Regions from separate parts of the Homo sapiens genome. Here all the other regions are linked to region 3. Evidence: promoter capture Hi-C in 16 types of primary human blood cells and fetal thymus (Javierre and others, 2016). All regions are on one chromosome and are shown on one strand. The core of a region is centred on a gene start or on the middle of the fragment in contact, and the rest is flanking DNA. Distances in the headings are between cores, read along the strand shown. Region 1 holds the start of LINC00399 (long intergenic non-protein coding RNA 399). Region 2 has its middle 11 kb from the start of LINC03082. Region 3 holds the start of IRS2 (insulin receptor substrate 2).

Region 1 (3,053 bases), core at 275-2,774, 380 kb before region 3:
AAATGTATTTTTATTATTTTCATCCTTATTAGATTATTTCCTAGCTGCTTTCAAATTAGTAATCATAATTATGCAAAAACAAACGTAAGTCATCAAAAGGTAGGCATGTCAGCATTAAACCTGCTATTTTTAGGATAAGATCCACTTTCCGTGAAGTTTGTTTTATTGCTTCCTAGTTCTCTGTGCAGAAATGTGCTCCGGGAGGCCTGCCCTGCTCCGCCCAGCTGTCAATCTGCTGCGCGTTTCCCTCACCAGCTACTGCTTCCTCCTGGGCCTCCCGGCATTCACCAGCCAGGAGGCAGAACTTGGCCTCCCTTAATCCTGAATAGGCATGCAGGGTTACATGCTAGACACAAAGGAAGCCACAGCCAGCAGAAGGCGAGCCGACAAGAACAAGGAAATGGTTCTGCCGTCACATCCCCTGGAATCTCTGTGCCTTGGTGTCTCCGTTGGTAAAGACAGGATGTCCTAGATCTCCAAGGTTTCTTGAAAAACTAAAACCCATTATTGTTTAATGCCTTCTAGAAGTTGCCTAGGAAACACTTCTTAGAAAAGATTCACAAACAGACCTGGAATGAATCCTTCTCGCTCTTCATACACTGAGACAGGTTGAAATCTAAGACCATGGCAGGGAGAAGCCGCACGCGGAGTCGCACTGTCAGGATCCAGGATCGGTAGGAAACAGGCTCTGTGCCCTGCTCTGGCACCAGCCGGGCTGGCCCTTATCTGAATCCATTCCAAATGCTTGACGCTACCTTAAGCCACAGAACTCAGAATTAGATATAATAGGCGAGGCAAATGCTCACTATTCATGATACAAGATAAATCCTGATAAGGATAATAAAAGTAGAAGTTATCTGTGATTAGCTTTAAACAAAGCTTTGCTGCCTTGAAAACACTTTCTTTTCCCATATCTATATCATTTTCTCCCACGGTAATTTCAAATCATGACCTTTTATTTGGAATTTGAGCTCTGTACTTTCCCCTCTAAATGAACTATCCTTAGAAACATTAATTATCTTTGAAAGCATAATTTCAGTAGCAGCAAAAGAATTCACTGTAATTTAAAAATTCTAGTATTGGTTATTTCTATATTTTACTAATACAACTAACGCTGTCATAAGCACCCTTGTGATAACCCCTTGCTTCAAGACTATTTCTTATGTTAAATTACCATAATTTTTTTTTTTTAATTCATGCATTCAGATCTTAATCAGATTGCAAGTTCTTCAGGCTTGGAACCATATCACCACAATGAACAGCCAAGTATAAAGGGTCCCTGGGGAAACCCCAACCGGCCTGCGCCCTGGGAGAATGGGGTGGAGCCACGGAAGTTCACGCGCTTTGCAGAGGGGAGGAGCCTGGCCTCTCCTGATCCTGGATAGTACCTGAGATTCAATCGCTGAGGCGGGAAAACCCGCTAGCAGGACTGTTGCTTTGCTGAGAGTCCCTGTTTCCCTTTTTTTCCTTTTGGCCCGATAAATTCCATTTTTCTCACCCTTCAAAATCTCTGTGACCCTAATCTCTCATGGCCATGTGACATGGGCCCTAAAGAGAAAGTCCTACAACAATAGCTTTCATATGATAATATCAGTGATAAGCTGTCGTTTACAATGGACGCCTCTCAGGAAGGTGTCCCTCAATAACTTGAACATTTAAAAAATTAAAAGATTGATTGTAGAGAGTCCACCTATGAAATGAGCACATATTAGGGCAGAGCGAGAAAATCAACGTAAAGAAACAGAGCAGCTGGCATGTCTACAAAACTCAACTTGAACATAGTGGGGGATATTAGCATAACCGAAGAAAACCGCTGTCAGCAGTTTGGGAGGGAAGGACTGGGTCTGAACACACAGACAAATTATAGCAAGAGCCACCAAGGTGGACGTTGCTTACCCAGTGCTCATGGAGTGAGTCAGAGCCCAAAGTATTCTTCCCCTGAGCAAAGCCATCTCTATTGTCAGATGCAGAAGCCCCAGCCAGGGGCCCGGAGATGCCTGGATTCTTCTAAATCCTGCAGGTCTTCGAGGCCTCTTGCAACTGTAATTGAGTTTCCTGTGTAGGTGCTCAGGGGAGAGAAAGCTCGGTTATTGAGACTTTCATTCTCCTGGACTTTGTAGAGTGATTTCTCATTGAATTTAAGAAATAACACACAGTCATTCAATTAGCAAAGCTTTAGCATGCAGCAGCTCTTCGCCAGGTCTTATGCCAGGCCCTGGGGATGAAAGGACGAACAAGATAACCCTGCCCTCAGGGAGCTTCCAGTCCAAAGAAACCCAGGAGGCTCAACACAATGTGATGATTTCTGTGACGTGGTTAAGTCCGGGGGGCCATAAAAAGCGGGGCCTCTAACCAGGTCTGTGGGCAGGCGAGCACTGGAGAAAGTTTCTATGAAGAGACAGCGTATCTGGATGAAAGCACACAGAAGAGTGTAAATTAGTCAGGTAAATGAATGAGGATGAGAGACCAGGGCTACGCAATGAGGAAGAAGTGGCTTCCAGGTAGAAAACAGGTGTGAGCCATTTTGTCCTCAAGAATCTACAAACTGTTGTGTGTGGACGGGGCACAGGTATGAAGTTATAGACCAGTAAGAGATGGGGCTAGACACACAGGCATGGAGACTCCTCCCCAGCCATGTGCAGGAGATCACTCTAAGGTTTGTGAGCAAGGAAGTCACCTACCATTTACTTCTGCAAAGGTCTCTATCATTACAGGGTGACTACTCTGCCCAGTACTATTGTAAATACTTCCCATACATTGAGCTGCACACTGGGGCTTATTATTCTCATTTTACTGCTGAGAAACTGAGTCCCTACCTCTTGGGCCCTTGCCCAGAGCCACACATGTGGCAGCTGCAGAGCTGGTGCCTTGACTTGGGTCCCCTGAGCCTGGAGTCTTGTGCACACAACTGCCGTCATGCTACACTGCCAGCGGGCAGGTAGACTGAGACCAGGGCATGGCCCCTCATCTGCATGTAAGCAAGGCTGCTGCTTCTCTGTGTGGGTGATGCTGGTAGGGTTTCCTAACCCAGGCCAACAATGAAAACATTAAGT
Region 2 (3,059 bases), core at 161-2,660, 350 kb after region 3:
GCTGTGAGTTCACAGGGTGCCACGTGCAGGGTTGGAGAGACCCCAGCCCCATCAGATCTCCTCTCTCCAGAAGCACCCTCCCTCTCCATCCCTCCAGAGGCCGGGGCCATGTGTCCACCCATGTGGAGGTGTAAGGAGAGCCAGAGGGAGAGGTTCCCACGTGGACCCAATGGCGAAAAGTCTTGCAGTCAAAATCACTTAGAAACATTCTGCGCAGAGCTGGCTGAGTGTTGGGTGACCAGGTGATTGATGCTCAGGCGTTAAGGGAACAATGGGCTGTCCTCTGCATGCTTTCAGAGCTGGAGGGGCCTTGCCACCGGCAGAAGCAGAAAGATCATTTAAGCAGCACCCTGAACAATGAGTGTTTTCAGAAAGTTATCGAACAGGCTTGTGAAATATTTTTCTCTTGATGTCTTTAAAAGATATTTTCACTTCTCCCGCGTGATTCAGGGTGGTTTGGAAGTGGGAGAAGAAGGAGGCTTGAGATGTTGAAGTTCACTGCAAAGTCCCTCCTTCAGGACTCTAATTATTAAATATTTTCTCTATATATACCTTGTCTATCCAAATGATCATGAACCTGGGATGGAGGATAGGATTTATTACCTTGTCTCCTCCCAAGGGGTCCAGAGAAAGCCATGTGAAATGAGGGGATGATTAATAAACATTAGATTGACTGATGACCTCCACAGTATGTGAAATTGTCTTTTATCAAAGCAGCAGGGAGACATAGTAGAGTCAGACAGGTATAACTCAAATGATCAGAAGGATAAGGATCAGAAGCTTCTGAGAACACGACTTGAAAACATCTCTTAAATCTGGAATAACAAAGGTTAAAGAAGATATGAATTATGAAAAGAATGATCTTAACAAAACCTCAGATACTTAAAAATTACTCTAGGGGACACCTTTTAATATTGCAGAGAGATCATCTTAGGCCCAATAAAACTAAATGCTATTTTTGCATCATGGGAATTGAATATAGGGAATTTGTCATTCAGGTAGAAATGAAGTTGACCACAAAATTATCCTCAGAATGATTTAGACACACGTGTAAAGGAGAATGCAGAAACAATCCACATTGGTATAAAGTCTCCTGAGGCAGGGGCTATGCCGTGACATTGCATCCCTGGACCTCACTCGGGGCCTGGATGAAGGAAGAGATGCCGTGTGCACTTCGTCTTGCATATTTCTCATTTAATCTTCCAGGCAACACTCAGATGTGGGCAACCTTTATTCCATTTGTAATCCAACCCTCAACCTCACCCTATCTATTGCATAACTCCTTTTTAATTCCTTAACCTGACAAATTACAGGTTTCTTCCACAATTATTATTTTTTTTTTTTTGCACAACACTTCTTAAGGACGACATTATCGATTTCCATTTATCCTGTACCTAACCTAGTACTTGGGAAATAATAAGCACGCAGAATATGAATGATGAAGAGATGGATCAGTGGATGGATGGATGGATGAACAGATGGATGAATAGATGGATGGATGAACAGATGAATGTATGTATGGATGGATGGATGGTGGATGGATGATGGATGGATGGATGGATGGATGAGTAGATGGAAGGAACAGATGGAAGGAAGCAGAGAATGAGTAAAAGGATGATAAGTGATACAGCCAAACAGGTTTTCTCTTTTTTTGTAAATCCTTCTCAGTCTATGATTCTGATTTGGAAGAATTACAAGTAAAAATGACCTAATTTGTGCAGATCTCTGAGAGGTTTTATATCTTACCCAAGGTCACAAGTTTGTAAGTGGCAGAGTCAGCATCTGAACTCAGATTTGTCTAGTTTCATGAGGACGACAAAATGACTCTTGGGTTCAGATACAGGATGGGTGCACTGAGTCTTAGGCTTTAAGAATTCTGGTGTAAAAGCGATGGTACCCCTAATGAGTACAAGCTAATGCATGTAATTTAAAGTCCAGTAAGCTAGAGTGAAAAAGTGCATGGAAAGAGCCAGCATACAGCCATTAAAATCGAAAAGCCCATGAATGATGGTTAACTAAATTGGTAGACTATGGTATGTTCAAGCTTTAGAAAAGAGAGTGAAAAGATTTTTTAAATGACCAAAGTTGAACCGTTTCATTCTCTTCCATTTATCACCATCATACTTAAAACCATCAAAACAAGTACTCTGTATTGTGGCTGGTGCCAGTCCCAGGTAAAGTTTAGCAGGCCACCCCAGCCTGTCTCTCCTGCTGAGTGCATGGAGCAGCTATTAGAGGACTCTGTCAGTGAACGGTAGCAGACAGACTGGGGAAGAAAACCAGATTTAGATGTGCCACCAAAGCAGGACAATTTTACCATATTTTTTCTCCAGTTCTCCTGCTGTTTAGCCCAGATATGGCTGCAGCCACAGAAATTATGTGCAGAGTAAGTAAAGACACAATTTTAGAAACAAGGAGTCAACAAGAGGAATGTTAGGCTCTGAAAAGTAATGGGGAGTTCAGTGGGACGGTGGAATGAGGGAAGGAGATCCAGTAAAATTGTTCATGGACTCCTGGACTCATCTTTGATGTGCGCGTGCATGGATCTGACTCTAAACAGCTACCAAACTGAAAACTGCCCACACTGCCCACACCCAGACAGGCCGTTGGTGGGCACGCATGCAGGACAGATCTGAATAGTACCGCAAAAACAGTTCTACCTATAGAAGGTGAATTGAAGCTTGCAGCCTGGAACCTGACCCAGTCATTGGCCTGCAAAGACCCCCAAACACCAACATTTTTCCATAAGAGAAAGGCATACATCTACAGACTCACAAAGCTAAAGAACCCAATCCACACACAGACATGTCATAATTAGATGTCGGAAAATTAGACAGAATGAGAAATCCTAAAAGTAGCCAGAGACAGCACATTACTTAGAGGGGAACACCGATTTGAATGATTCAGGGTTTATTATCAGACACTAAATAGAGGCCAGAAGGAAAGAAAGTAAACAACAGATTTAAATTGTTGAAGGCGAAGAACTATTAGAATTCTATGTCCAGTGGAAAAAAATACCCAGTACAGGTGAAATAAAGACATTTTTCAAATGAAGAAAA
Region 3 (3,214 bases), core at 491-2,990:
GTGTGCGAGCGGCTCAGGGGCGCGCGCACCGGCCCGGGGCTCAGGGGGCTCCCAGCCACCGACACCGGCCTGGCGCCCGCGGCCGCCGCTCCCGCCGCCGCGCCGCCGTCGCCCTCGCTGGCGGTGCGCACCCGGCACGAGCTGCACTTGGCCGCCGGCGGGGTGGCGGCCAGGCTGTCGGTGCGCGAGCGGCGCACCAGGCCCGTCTGGCTGGGGGGCAGGTTGACCAGGTGGTGGTGGCGGCGCGCGCCGGGGACGCTGATGGGGTGCGTGGCCGACGACCCCGACGATTGGCTCTTACTGCGCGGCCGGAACTCGAAGAGCTCCTTGAGCGCCTTCATGGCCTCCAGGATGGTCTCGTGGATGTTCTGCGCCACCACCGAGTCGTCCGCCTGCATCCACAGCTCGCCGGGGCCTGTGACGGCCGAGCGGCCCACCTCGATGAAGAAGAAGCTGTCCGAGTGGCCGCAGCGGCGGATGTTCATGAGCTGCAGCGTCACCGACGGCTGCTCGCAGTTGAGCTTCACGAAGCCGATGGTGCGCGCAGACAGGCACAGACGGTACACCCCCGTCAGGTTCTTGCTCTGGCCCAGACCCTTGGGCTTCAGGTTCACCTGCCACACCTCACGGTAGGCGGCCGTGGCGGGAGCCACCAGCCCGTAGCTGTCCTCGGCCCCGGCGGCGCCGGCAGAGCCGCCCAGGGCGCCGGGCAGGGAGGCGCTGCAGGACGCGGCGGGCGCGGCGGCGGGGGGCGCGTCTCCGGCGGCCGCGCGGCCCTCGCTGACCAGGTCGGTGAGCGCGCGGTACCAGCCCTCCTGCTCCTGCTCGTTCTCGGCGGCCACGGCGAAGTACTCGTCCTTGGTGTAGAGGGCGATCAGGTACTTGTGCTTGGCGTCGGCGCGCTTGTTGATGTTCAGGCAGCAGTCGAGAGCGATCACCCGTTTCGGCGCGCCTGCCTTGCTCCGCCACTTTTTCTCGCTCTCGTAGTACTCGAGCCGCGGCGGTTGCGGCGCCGACCCCCCGCCCGCCGTCGCCTCGTCGCCGCCCGCGCCGGGTCCGCGCAGCACGAAGAAGCGCTTGTGGCCATGCTTCTGCTTGCGCAGGTAGCCGCACTTGCGCACGCTGTGGTTGTTGTTGTTGTTGTTGTTGTTGAGGTTGGGGCCGTCTCCGCTCGCCGGCCCGGGCGGCCCGTGCCGCGGCGGGCTCGCCATCGCGGGCGCTTCAGGCCGCGCGGCCCGGGCCCGGCGCCCAGGGGTTGGGGCGAGGGGCGGAGGGGGCGCGGGCGGGGGCGGCTCCCTCCCACCCTTGCGCCCGGCCGCCCGCCCGATCACGCGTCCCTCGGGCCCAGGCGGTGGGGAAGGTCCGGGGAGGCCCGCGGGGGCCAGCACCGCTCGGCGGCGCCGCGCCCTCCGCGCTCTGGGGCTCCTGAGGATGCCCGGCGCGGGCGGTGGCCGCCCCCCTCCCCGGCTGCCTGCGGCCGCTGCCTCCTCGGGCTCTCGGGCGGCGCCGGGGGACGCGCTCGCTGGGCCGGGAGTCGGGGTCCCCGAGCCGCGGGGCCGAGCCTAAGGCGCGCGCGGCCGCACCGGGGCTGCTGCCGCCGCGTCGCGCTCCGGGAAGCCGGGGTGCGCCCGGGCGCTCGGGGTCCGCGCCGCCGCCGGGGCTGCTGCTGCTGCTGGTGTTGCTGCTGCTGCTGCCAACGGCGACCCGGGCTCGTCGCGGTCCCCGCCGCACAGTGAGTAACACATCGCGCACCGAGTGACTGAACTAAGAAGAGCAAAACAACATGTGACTCGGCGTTACGCAGGCACACACAGCGCGGCCGCCCCGCCCCGCTGCCTCGCATTGGCGCCGCGCCCCCCGACGGACGGCGCGCTCGGCCAATCGGCGCGGCGCTCGCGGGGGCGGGCCGCGCGCCCCCGCCCCGCCCCCCTTTCTCCCCGGGCCGCGTTTCCCGCCGTCCCCTCCCCCTCCCGCGAAGGCCCCGGCCCGGCCGGGCGGGGTGGGGCGGCCCCGGCCTCATTAATCAGCGGCTTGTTGTGGATGCCGGCGGAGGAGATGCCACCCAGGGCGGGAAAAGGGGCGCGGAAGAGGGGCGGGGCGGGCCACGGCGCGCAGGGCCCTTCCCTCCCGCCTCGGACTCAATTAATTGGGCTTGAGCTTCCGCCGGGGAGGGGGCGCCGGGCGGGGCCGCGGCTGGGCGGGGCGGGGGATCGGGATCGGCGGCGGGGGCTGCGGCCTTGCAGTGGAAGCATGGGCGGCGAGCCGGGCCGTGCTCTCGGGGCGCGGGGTCCCCATTTTGGGCGAGGGCGGCCGCTCCCGCGCTCGGGGTGGGCGCGCCCCATCCCCGTCCCCCGTTTCCCGTCCCCGTCTCCCGGCCGCATCTCCGTCCCCCCGCAGCCGCGAAACGCGGGGAGGTTCCAGGGCCCGCGGCCGCGGGTTCGCGAGCACCGCGCTCCAGATCGAGAGCGGCGCGCGCCCTTCCGTGGAGGACAGAGGGGCGCGGAGGGGGCGCCTGTGTCCCACCCGCTCGCGGGCGCTTTACGGGGCGTCCTCTGCGCCATTCACTTGTCAGCTTGTCGGGAAGTTGAAATCGCGTTTGGGAGGTAATAGGAGAAAGAGATCGGGGACGGCAGGCGGAGAAAGTGCGGTTTCCATAGCGCCGGGGAGAGGGCGGACCCGCGAGCCAGCGGTCCCTGAGCCGGGAGACCGCGCGGGCGTCTCTCCAGCCCCCGCAGGAGCGCCGCCTTCCTTCCGCAGGGGCGTCCTCTCCCCCCACCGCTGCAGGAGCACCCCCTTCCTTCCTCGGAAGCGTCCTCTCACCACACCGCTTCAAGAGCCCCCCCTTCCTTCCACAGGGGCGTCCTTTCCCCCTCCGAGGCAGGAGCGCCCCTTTTCCCCCCACAGGAGCGCCCTCCCCACCCCAGGAGCGCCCTGCGCCCAGCAGACGGGCAGGTGGGCGGGCGTCCACTACCTGTGTGCGCGGTGCGGGCGGTGACTGCCAAGTTGGAGATGCCCTTGGAGAACTGCTTCGAATTCATGTATCTACTGGGCTTTTGTGACTTTCAAAGCCTATAGCAAATAAGCACCCCTGCAATTACGTCTCCTCAATGACCAAGTCAGGGTGAGGTGAGGGCTTCCTGAGTTCAGATCCCAGCAAGCTCCCGATCCTGCGCAACGAAGAAAACTCAACAAAACAGGCTTTGGCTGTTTATTT

What was found. Contacts are between HindIII fragments. The CHiCAGO score rates a contact against its expected background, and 5 or more counts as called.
Region 1: a contact is called between a fragment that was not itself captured here and the fragment with the promoter of IRS2 in region 3, in 3 of 17 cell types (M0 macrophages, monocytes and M2 macrophages). The highest score is 6.7, in M0 macrophages.
Region 2: a fragment that was not itself captured here is called in contact with the fragment with the promoter of IRS2 in region 3 in 1 of 17 cell types (megakaryocytes); the score reaches 5.1 in megakaryocytes.

Annotation. Positions count from the first base shown.
Region 1 is chr13:109,400,135-109,403,187 of GRCh38, forward strand. It overlaps LINC00399 (long intergenic non-protein coding RNA 399), which reads left to right and starts at 562. Exons shown (of 2, transcript NR_126361.1): 1 at 562-674; 2 at 1,207-1,507. It overlaps LOC105370359 (a long non-coding RNA gene), which reads right to left. Exons shown (of 3, transcript XR_001750017.3): 1 at 2,817-3,053; 2 at 1,897-2,407; 3 at 1-755. The HindIII fragment of the contact is 1,294 bases long and covers 878-2,171 here.
Region 2 is chr13:110,138,770-110,141,828 of GRCh38, forward strand. No RefSeq gene overlaps it. Among named protein-coding and RNA genes, the nearest start is that of LINC03082, 11 kb to the left of the region's middle. The HindIII fragment of the contact is 1,264 bases long and covers 779-2,042 here.
Region 3 is chr13:109,784,843-109,788,056 of GRCh38, forward strand. It overlaps IRS2 (insulin receptor substrate 2), which reads right to left and starts at 1,741. Exons shown (of 2, transcript NM_003749.3): 1 at 1-1,741. The coding sequence starts at 1,211. LOC124903211 (WAS/WASL-interacting protein family member 1-like) reads left to right here and starts at 2,242. Exons shown (of 2, transcript XM_047430835.1): 1 at 2,242-2,603; 2 at 2,758-3,214. The coding sequence starts at 2,251. The coding sequence ends at 2,995. RefSeq lists an enhancer at 248-877 and silencers at 1,719-1,948, 1,969-2,138. The HindIII fragment of the contact is 25,501 bases long and covers 1-3,214 here.